2 separate regions of the Homo sapiens genome follow, and region 1 is linked to region 2. Evidence: promoter capture Hi-C in 16 types of primary human blood cells and fetal thymus (Javierre and others, 2016). All regions are on one chromosome and are shown on one strand. The core of a region is centred on a gene start or on the middle of the fragment in contact, and the rest is flanking DNA. Distances in the headings are between cores, read along the strand shown. Region 1 overlaps C2CD2 (C2 calcium dependent domain containing 2). Region 2 holds the start of UMODL1-AS1 (UMODL1 antisense RNA 1).

What was found. The method cuts DNA at HindIII sites, captures the fragments that hold promoters and counts their contacts. A CHiCAGO score of 5 or more calls a contact.
Region 1: a fragment that was not itself captured here is called in contact with the fragment with the promoter of UMODL1-AS1 in region 2 in 9 of 17 cell types (M0 macrophages, naive CD4 T cells, M2 macrophages and 6 more); the score reaches 12.1 in M0 macrophages.

The regions. Positions count from the first base shown.
Region 1 is chr21:41,883,177-41,888,195 of GRCh38, forward strand. C2CD2 (C2 calcium dependent domain containing 2) reads right to left here. Exons shown (of 14, transcript NM_015500.2): 14 at 1,936-5,019. Among named protein-coding and RNA genes, the nearest start is that of PRDM15, 6.3 kb to the left of the region's middle. RefSeq lists an enhancer at 2,419-2,468. The HindIII fragment of the contact is 1,815 bases long and covers 1,272-3,086 here.
Region 2 is chr21:42,105,636-42,111,060 of GRCh38, forward strand. It overlaps UMODL1-AS1 (UMODL1 antisense RNA 1), which reads right to left and starts at 2,899. Exons shown (of 2, transcript NR_027243.1): 1 at 2,661-2,899. UMODL1 (uromodulin like 1) reads left to right here. Exons shown (of 23, transcript NM_001004416.3): 10 at 3,927-4,064; 11 at 5,245-5,425. RefSeq lists an enhancer at 2,048-2,167 and a silencer at 2,144-2,438. The HindIII fragment of the contact is 14,881 bases long and covers 1,752-5,425 here.

The DNA.
Region 1 (5,019 bases), core at 929-3,428, 220 kb before region 2:
ATTATTATTAGCTATTGTTGTGATCTCAAGTCTTTCTCTAACTTTATTTATTTTATTGAGATGGAGTCTCACTCTGTTGTCCAGGCTGGAGTGTGTGATCTCAGCTCACTGCAACCTCCGCCTCCCAGGTTCAAGCGATTCTCCTGCCTCAGCCTCCCAAGTAGCTGGGATTACAGGCATGCGCCACCAGGCCCAGCTAATTTTTGTATTTTTGGTAGAGACAGGGTTTCACCGTGTTGGCCAGACTGGTCTTGAACTCCTGACCTCAGGTGTTCCGCCCGCCTTGGCCTCCCAAAGTGCTGGAATTACAGGCGTGAGCCACCGCGCCCGGCCTATTATATAAAAGCTATGCTTGCTACCGAGCTAGACTATAAATTAATACATCCCCTGGGCTTAGTCCAGTGCTTCACCTGGTACAGCAATGATGATCACCAGCTGATAACCCTTCTATTAAGGTGCCCAACGTACCTGCACGTCCAACTTTATAAATATCGATGACATTAATATAGACCTATAAATACATAGGCAACTAGTTTTGAATGCCTGTTACAGCAGGGCGTGACTCGCAGTTTCCACTGTGGACAGTCACAGTGTGGAGCTGGGGAAGGCCAGTGGAGGAAAGCTGTTTCTAGGTCATGATTGGGAAGGAGGGCCTGGCCTTGGCAGCTTTCTCTCTAGGGGGATCACTGTGCTATGTCAGCCATCCTGGTGTCTAGCCCCCTTTGGTGAGTGATCTGCATTTTAAAAATAAACTTTATTGACATATACACACATCACCCTGTCTTTGTAGGGGTGCTAAGGTCAAAACAGCATGTGGTCATCCCCTCCAGTGTCCTGCTCAGTCCCCAGCACCAGGTCCTGGGCGATGGAGGGTGAGGTGGGTGGAAGCAAAGCTGCTGTCTGTGCTCACGTAAGGGTCATCAGCTGACCTTTGTCCTTGCTCTGCTAGGTGGGCAGTGACTGTACGAAGCCCCGGGGGATACAGGAAATGAGAGCAATGCAGGACAGTGAAGCCTGAGAGCCGGAGGCCTGGACCGTGCCGCTGCAAGCACGCCAATTCCGCAGCCTGCAGAGAAGCTCCTTCGTGGGGAAGGCAGGGCTTGAGTTGGGTTAGACCATTCGAAGAGTGAGTGTGAACTGCTGGGCACGAGGATGCACACTCCAGAATGACCGAGGGTGGTTGAGTTGGATTAATTTGGGCAGTGGAGACGCATTGGCAAACAGTGCTCATCTGGAGGTGATCAGCTTAGGAAAGTTGGTAAATTAGGACAAGCTTGGCCTCCAGCAACTCAATCCAGCCTCCTCCTGGAGCATCAGCACAAAGTGGGTCCCTCTGGCCACACAGAGGAAGCAACAGTTCAATCACTGGGTCCTGAACCACTTCTAACTCCAAACAAGAGGCACTGCCATCACCACCTTGTGGTGCCCAGGAAATGGAGCAGAAAACCTGGAACCCAGCTGGGAAGCATCGGGCTCCCTCTAAGGGTCTACACGGTGTCTAGCGAGCGGGCGGGACAGCTGAGAGGAGGGGTGGGCAGTGTGGGGACAGGAGGCTGGGCCTGTCCAGTAGCTTTCTCCAGGACACCAGCTCTCCACGTGCTCTGCTGTCTGGGCACCGCAGGGGGAATGAAGACTGAGGGAGACCACGGGAACTGATGACTAGAAAGAAGGCACGATGCCTGCATGGGGCCCGCAGGACACGTCTGTGACCCGACTCGACCGCCTCCCTCCCAGAACCACCGTGAGCCCCAGGCAAGTGCCGACGCTGTTCCACCTGTGGCTGAGCCAGGTACCTGTCCCCTCTGCATGCACCCGGGCCACCCACCGGGGTGGGGAATGGACAGTGAAGTCCAAGGATGACCTGATGAAAGGGGCGCTCAGAGAAGACCCTGGGACTTCCAGGACAGAACAGGACTCGGGAAAAACAACTCAGTGTAGTGTTCTGTGTGCACATTTATTTCTTTCAAAGATTGTTTGTGTTCCAGCCACATCTTCTCCAAAGGAACCCACCCAAGCCCGTGTGCAGGCTTGCTGCAGGGCTGTCTTCGGCGTTTAAAGTGCTACTGAGGAATACAATCATTGTCACGTAAGTTCATCACCGCACTCCAGCGTCAGGCCAAACCTTTCCGTGGACCTGGAAAACCTGCCACTTTCTTCTCTTTTTACAATGCAGTTTCGACATAACATTGGTAGAGTAAACAACAAACCACAAGCCTAAATGATGAATGGTGCGCTGCTGCCCAGCTGCTAACTGAGAGAACGAGGCAGTGTATTGTGTTTCGAATGCAAACGGTCATGGACCCAAGTTAACCTGAGTTTGCTCTGCAGGATTCCGCGGGGGCCTTGCCCTGTGCAGGCTGCTTTGGTCTTCGTGTCTAGGCCGGTTTGGGGCAGTGGGGAGAGGGCCTGGCAGCAGGGTTTACGCCAGCCCCGAGGTCTGTTTTCCGTCAGACAGAGATACGTGTCCTGCCTTCCACCATCCACCAATTTGTACTCTGAAGTTTCCAGATCAAGAGCCGTGAGATTACTACCCAGGAAACACCTGCCTTCGGTGGCCAGCAGTGTAAATTAATCTTTCCCTCTCTGCTCAAAGCAACTTTGCAACTCTCGTCTATAGAGGTGGCCAGTAAAACCCAAGCAAAAATCTAAACGGGCACCAGGTGGCCACTGAGTGGCGACTGGTCGAGTAGCAGTTGGTCATAAGGGATCAGGGCTGGTTTTGAACTCAGACTTGAAACTTGACGAAAATAAAGTGCTCTGTCAAAACTCTCACAGCAGGTTTTCAGCTGGAACAAGGAGATGGCTACTTTTTGTTATTGCTACAATAACACACGCGTGTGTGCAAACACACATAACACACACACACACTTAAAGCTCCATTTCACTCCTCCACAAAGAACAGAGGCACCTCCTTAAACAAAGCAAACGGGGAAGGGTTGCAAGCTCATTAAAACCAACATGAGCACCCAGTTCCAGAGATACAGACACAATTAATCTTAGTGTTCATGAGGAATTGTTTTTAAAACACAACTGGGCAAAACTTTCATCCAGACAAAAGCCAAAAACAAAAGCCCTCAAGCCACAAAAGCTTGTAGAAGAGGTGAGGCGATAAAGGTGATTTACACATCAGTATTTTTAGCATTTGGTGGATAATCTTAATTTATCTTTAACCTTCACAACATTTACTTTGTCATAAATACCCTACACCATGAAAAAACAAACCTGTATAAAACAGCTTGGAAAACAAACATTCACAGTATCAATACAGCCCATTTCTCACGGTGCTACCCTGAAGCTAGCCGACGTGTTGCCTTTGCCTTTGCTTCATAAACTCCCTCCCATGTTGGTGTTTTCTGTAACTTCAGAAAAGGCCATTGGATGGAGACAACGTGTGCGTGTCTACAGGAAGCAGAGCCCTAGACCTTGGTATTCAACAGTAAGCAGCGCTCATGGGATTCATCTGGAAATGGAATAGTTAAAACCTTTTTTTTTTTTTGAGAGCAAGAAGGCTTAATATAAAATCCTGGGGCCGGCCTGGTGGCTCATGCCTATAATCCCAGCACGCTGGGAGGCCAAGGTGGGTGGATCACCTGAGGTCAGGAGTTCGAGACCAGCCTGACCAACATGGTGAGACTCCATTTCTACTAAATAGAATTAGCCAGGTGTGGTGGCGCGTGCCTGTAATCCCAGCTACTTGGGAGGCTGAGGCAGGAGAATCGCTTGAACCAGGAGGTGGAGGTTGCAGTAAGCTGCCATTGCACTCCAGCCTGGGCAACAGAGTGAAACTCCATCTCGAAAAAAAAATTTTTTAAATAAAAAAAAACTTCTGATATCCTTGCACTTGAATAGAGTGCACCTGAATTCCAAAATCAAATAAAAAAGAACAATTAAAAACTTCTCATCAGTGTCTGAAATTCTGACACATAATATCCTCTTGGAATTCTTAAATATGTCTCAGCCTCTTTTTACCACATGGCAAAGAGCAGTAAAACTTCAAGTAAAACATTAAAGTGAACATCTGTCCCATCTGTCCCAAAAGACTAACAGTGATGCCTGACTTTGGGGACAGAAACTTGGTAGTATTCACATGTTTTGAAACTCCAGGTGCTTTTTTTACAATGATTAAAACTGGAATATAATTTTTAAAAACAAAGCAGGTTGGAAAAGTCATTTTAAAGTCACTTGATAATTCCTGGAACACCTAAGAAGTTTGTAATGCGCATTTTAAAGTGAAATTCCTAATGTCGTTTTCTAATCTCTCTCTCTAAAAAAGAAGAAAAAAAAATCCTATAATTTTGGTTTTTATACAGGTTTTTACTAAAAAAGAAAAAAATCCTATAATTTTGGTTTTCATATAGGTTTTTACTAAAAAAGAAAAAATCCTATAATTTTGGTTTTTATATAGGTTTTTACTAAAAAAGAAAAAAATCCTATAATTTTGGTTTTGATACCGGTTTTTACTAAAAAAGAAAAAATCCTATAATTTTGGTTTTTATATAGGTTTTTACTCACCAGTGGCTCTATTACCCCCGAAATATTTAATGTTTAAGGATTAACAAGAGGCTACGGAAGGAAGCTTGCCCATTTCCGTCTCCATGACAGAAGCCAAGCTTTCGTAACAGCCTTTTACATGTCTTTGGAGAAAAGTGAATCATATTAAACTGTCAAGAACACTTCACCCCAATGATGACTGCTCTTTGACCAGCATGTCTACTGGAAGTGGCACATTCAGAAGTGAGATCTGTGAATGAACTGAAATAGAAAGGCAACTGATGAGGAAAGCGACTGGAATGATATTAGGGATATTCAAATGGTGTGCCAGGTTTGTGATGTTTTCCACCAAAACAAACCCAAACAAGGGCACCCCAACCTGTGTCCAAGAGGACTGTTCACAGCAAAATTCTGAAGCGCTCATAGAAGGAATGTCCTGCGAGTTTGGCCCATTTGTTATTAAACTTCCATTCCTAAGACTGACACCTGAGACACAAAATAATTTCCTCTATTGCCCTAAAAAGACTT
Region 2 (5,425 bases), core at 1,649-4,148:
GACACAGACACAGAGGCCAAGATTGGAGTGATGCAGCCACAAGCCAAAGGACTCCTGGAGCCACAAGATAAGACACTGGAAGAGGCCTGGGAAAGCCCCTTTCCTAGAGCCCCAGAGGGAGGGCGGCCCTGCTGACACCTGGAGTTTGGACTTCGCCTCCGGAACGGCGGGAATACATCTGTGCTGTTTCAGGCCCCCCAGCTGGTGTGTTTGTGATGGCAGCCACAGGAGACCCGTGTCTTGCACCTCTAGGACTGGATGAATCCATTGTAAGCATTCGCAGCACCCCACTCCCCACGCTGTTCAGTGGTCCTGCAGAAGTTATTAAGCTCCTTCTGCAGGCTCTTGCCCGGCAGGGTCCCGGGCAGGCTGTGGCCTGCTTCCTCCACATTTCAGAGCTGAGGTGCTGGTGCGGGCAGGTCTCCTGAGCTGGGGGGTCAGCTGTGTGGCCAGTGATGGTGACGCCTCAGGCCGTGCATGGCCGGGGAGGCGGCCCTGCCTCTGCACTCTTTTGACTCCATGACTACTGGTGTCTTCGGACGCCAGAGTCGGGGGAGCAACCATGGGGCACCGCCCCTGCCTGGGGAGGCAGCACGAGGCCTGAGCCCAGCTTACAGGGGGACATCCACCCCCGCTGAGAGCCCCACCTTCACGGCGAGGATCTGTAGAAGAAGACATTTGATATTACTCGGCAAAAAAAACAAGAAACGAAAACACAAAAAGAGCTCCTCTGAAGAAGAAAAGGTATTTGCGCTGTGGTCCACCTAGAAATAATGTTGTTGGCACAACTAGAGCATTCCTCAGTCATTCAGGAGCACTCCCTGCCGGTGCGTCCACATGTCCCAACCCCGATAGATGAGGCGCTGTTCGCCCGTGGAGGGGTCAGGTTGTCGTGACCTTATCTTTACCCTTAGGCCGTCCATCCCGGGGCCTGGGGTTTCCTGCGCCAGTCACGGTGGGCTGTGTAGGTGGCCATGTGTTCGGTCTTTCCCCAGGAGGTACGTACCATGTGCTGGGAGGCCTGGAGGCTGAGCCGCCCCCCGCGCCTATGAGTTGCACCCTCACAGCGGCGGCCAAACCTCCTGCTCACTTTGCCCCATAGGAAGAGGTTAGAGTGAGGCGGAACGGGTTGGAATCCCAGCTCTGACACTCACTCACTGTGGGATGCTGCACAAATGACTTCCTCTCCCTGGGCCTCAGTATACTCATCTGTGGAATGAGATTACAGCAACATCCCACCTCCTATGGCGATGGAGTAAATTAAGGCACAATGCCTGTGTGGGTTTAGCCCAGTGCCTGTGCATGGCGACAGTGCATTTCTGATGGCCCCTCCAGCGTTCAGGGCTAACTCTTCCAGGATTAACTTTCATATCTTGGATGAGAGCTCATCTAGGAAGGTCTCCTAGCAACCCCTGGGTTCCCACTGGTCCTTCCGCCTCACGGGGCTCCTTTTTGAACCCCTCACATCATTTCCATTCAATCTCTTGCTCCTAACAGCACGGCCCCTATTCCTTCTCTTTCCCAACATCTGCTCTCAGGAGAGATTCTCATACAGTGTGCATTTGTTCTAGAGTGAGGGTCATCACTGGGCTTCTATGAGGCACCGCTGTGAACCCTCTGCACCGACCTTAGCCAGAGGAGCAGGACTCCCACCGGCATCCTTCTGCGTAAGAGGCCTTGTGGGTCTTCTGGGGCTCTGGAATCAACGCCGCTTTTCCTGGGGCCAGAGTAGGTGGAGCTGAGCTCCCCAAAGCTTCCAGTTTGCTGCCTGCTCCCACCCGCCTCGCCACTGCGCGAGCCCTTTCCATCCCCTCTGCAGAGTGAGAGAAGGGCCGTGAGTGAGGATCCTGGCCTAGGGCTGTCACCATCCCCCTCACCTGCTGGCCAGGCTAACCTACTGCAGGCTGCTTCCTTTCCTTAGGTTCACGGGTACCGCTATTTGTCCAGCGTCCATTTGCGGTGGCATTAGGATGAGGTGCTCTGTGCCCTCTTTCTCCCAGTGTGAATCTGACACACGCCCCCAGGAGAGTCCGAGGGGCATCACTTCTGGAGGACGCCCTGGGCCCTGAAAGACAGCTCATGGTCCAACTGAGGAGCCTGCACCTTGCTGGGACAGGGTGGCCCAGGAGATCTGGGGTCTGTACCTGCTCCTGGACCCTCTCCAGCTTGTTGTTCTGGGTGGGGCCAGCTCAGGAGGGGCACCTGGGCTGGGAGTCTCTGAAGCAGCTGCCCCCATTGCTCCAGGAGAGGGCTCAGCCCTTGTCCCAGCTGCGGGGCCAGTGGGAGCAGTGTGCAGCGTCCTGCCCTGGGCTCTCGCTGGCTCTGCGCCCTCGCCTGGCCAGCCCGGGAGGGTGCAGAGGCTCACTGGCAGCTCTTCCTGCTCCCACACCTGCCTCTTCCTCTGAACTGGAGGGCCGGCAAGCCTCAAGGCTTAATGCAAGACTAAATACAGCTGTCAGCGCCTTCCTCTGAGCTCGCTTGGGAGCTGTCTGGGGGGACGGAGGAGTGAAGATTAGGTGAATCACCACGCCCCAAAATAGACATCAGGTGCTTGGTGGTTTGAGCCAGCGTCTTGCCTGGTGCCTCTGCTGTCCTCCGTGGACTGCAGCCCAGCCAGCCTAGGCTCCAACCCCAACCCGGAGCACCCCCAGGAGAGTTACCTGTAGGCTGGAGGTTGAGTAGCACCCCAGGAAGAGGTGTGGGTTGGCACCAGCAGTGTTCTGATGGCAAGGCAGCCCCCAGGCCATGCTAGGGTGGTGGCATAGCTGTTGTGGCAGCTGACGAGCTTGCTGTTCTCCAGGGAAGCTGCTTCTGTGGAGACCGCAGGAAGCACAACAGAAAAAAACCCACAAAACGAGCCTCAGAGCACTCAGCAGCAGGGTTTTCTTTGCCCAGAACTGAACTGGTCCTGCATCGTGGCTTAAATTCCACCTGAATTGGAACTTCTCTGGCATGCCGGGTGTGGGTTCGTTCCCGAGCACCTCCACCCGCAGCTCTACAGAAGCACGCGCAGAAGGCACTGTCACCTCCAGCAGGGCCTGGCCCTGACGACCTCGGCTCAGCCACCCCATGGGAGCTACATTGTCCTTGTCCTCACCTTCATTCCCCTCAGGCGGGCCCCCCGGTGACATGACATCACAAGTCTTTGGGCACAGGAGGAGGGACATACCTGTGGAGACACCCGGGTGCTCTAGAATATGGCGCGGGAAGTTCATGTTGTACTCCGCTGGACCCCACCCCCGGCGTGGGAAGTTCATGTTGTACTCAGGCTGACCCCCACCCCCCCCACGAGAGAAGTCCATGTTATACTCAGGCTGACCCCCACTCCTGGCATGTAAAGCTGGTGTTATGCTCAGCTGGACCCCCACCCCCGGTGTGGAAAGCTCATGTTATACTCCACTGGCCCCCACCCCCGGCGTGGAAAGCTGGTGTTATACTCCGCTGGACCCCCACCCCCGGCGTGGAAAGCTGGTGTTATACTCCGCTGGACCCCCACCCCCCATGCGGAAAGTTCACGTTATACTCAGCTGTGTCCCCACCCCTGGCTCAGTTACTTTCCTATTTCTTGGTTGAGACACTAAGTATTGGAGAATGTTGGCACATCAAAGAGAGAGGAGAAAACATTTCAAGTTTTGGGTGTGGAAACAGAATAAAGAAGAGAGGGCTACATGCACACCCATGGGTGCTAATATTTAAGGAATGAACATTTCCTAATCTTTGCCCCCAAATAAGCCAACCAATGTGAAGGTGGGCACAGGCAGGCCGTAAGGTTGTCATGAGAGTGTTGGACGGATGCCCCAAAATGCCCCTGCTCCCGGCCGTTCACTGCAAAGACGGCTAGGAAGGACTCCTTCCAGCATGGGTCTGTCTTCTGATCACTCTTTGGCTGTTTTCTCATGGGTTTTGATTGTGTCTCCCCCTGGCAGACTGGGACGAGTGTGTGGACAGCGCGGAACACGACTGCTCACCGGCTGCCTGGTGCATCAACCTGGAGGGCTCCTACACCTGCCAGTGCCGTACCACCAGGGACGCCACCCCCTCCCGCGCAGGCCGGGCCTGTGAGGGTACGTGTCGACCCCCCTGCCGACTCTGGGAAGACCCCCTGCCCGAGAATCTGGGGGTGGGGCAAAGCCCAATTCTCCATAGGCACAGGGCTGAGGACCTATGGTAATGTTAGGGGCCTACAGAAATGTTTTCATTTCAATTTATTTTAAAATCAGAAGAAAGAAATTAATAGAAGGATAGTAAATATACATAAAACAATGAATCTAGCTTGGATTACACTCATCTCTATCTAAATGCCATTATAAAATGTAATTTTTGATAGATTGTTAAGTGGAGGGGTGCAGGGGTCCATGAAGGCCAAGTTCCTTGGGCCCACAGAAGTCAGGATGCAGCCCGGGGTCGAGGGATTCCTTCCCCAGTGGCCTGGAGCCCGAGAGGGTGTGGCCTGGAGCCCGAGACAGTGTGGAAGCCCAGAGAAGCTGCAGAGAGGCCCGATGGGGGCCGCTGAGCTCTAGTCCTGCTGTATCGGCCCCCAGTCTTTTCTGTGGACCAGTTCTGATGAGTGGGTCGGGGATACCTGGGATGCTGAATTGAGCAGCAGGAGGAGGCCACGTAGGGACCTAAAATGCAGTGACTGATTAGCAATGTCGGCCCGGACACAGGCGTGGCAGAGGCGCCCAGCCACTGGCTTGCCAGCCCCTGCTGAGGGCTTTCTAGCTGGAAGGAGCAGCCGAGACCAGTTCCCTGGGGAGAATATTCCTTAGACACTGCGTGTGCTGTCCTGCTTCCTAACATCCCACACCTTGTCTTCTGTTTTTCTCATTCGCCTAATGTCCTGCAAGTCGATGACAGCATCCAGCACCAAGTCCCACATTGAGCACAAATCTGGGGGAAATTGTCCCATTTTCCCAGAGTCCTGATGGATTAATCTGAGGCCTATGAGAACCAAGCCCTGCATTCAAGCCCGGGTTTTGTAGCCCCCCGGGTGGATCCCTCACCCTCAACTTCAGTTTCCTCATTTATCCAGTGGAGAGGCGTGATTTGCCTTCAGAGAGCCCCGGGGAGGCTGCAAACATGGGCCCAGGAAACACTCCTGAACGCTGGCGCCCGCCTGCGTCCCTGGCCAGGTCCACTCCGGGATGCAGAGCAGTCCTGCTGGACGGCCATGCTGCCCTCCTGGGAGGGCTCTTACTCGTGGGTGGGATCCAGCAGGCTCTGACAGTGGATGTGTCTTGGCAGGTGACCTGGTGAGCCCCATGGGCGGTGGACTGTCTGCGGCAACAGGGGTAACGGTCCCAGGTCTTGGCACGGGAACAGCAGCCCTCGGCCTAGAGAACTTCACCTTGTCACCCAGTCCTGGGTACCCTCAGGGCACCCCGGCAGCAGGCCAGGCCTGGACCCCAGAGCCCTCACCCAGAAG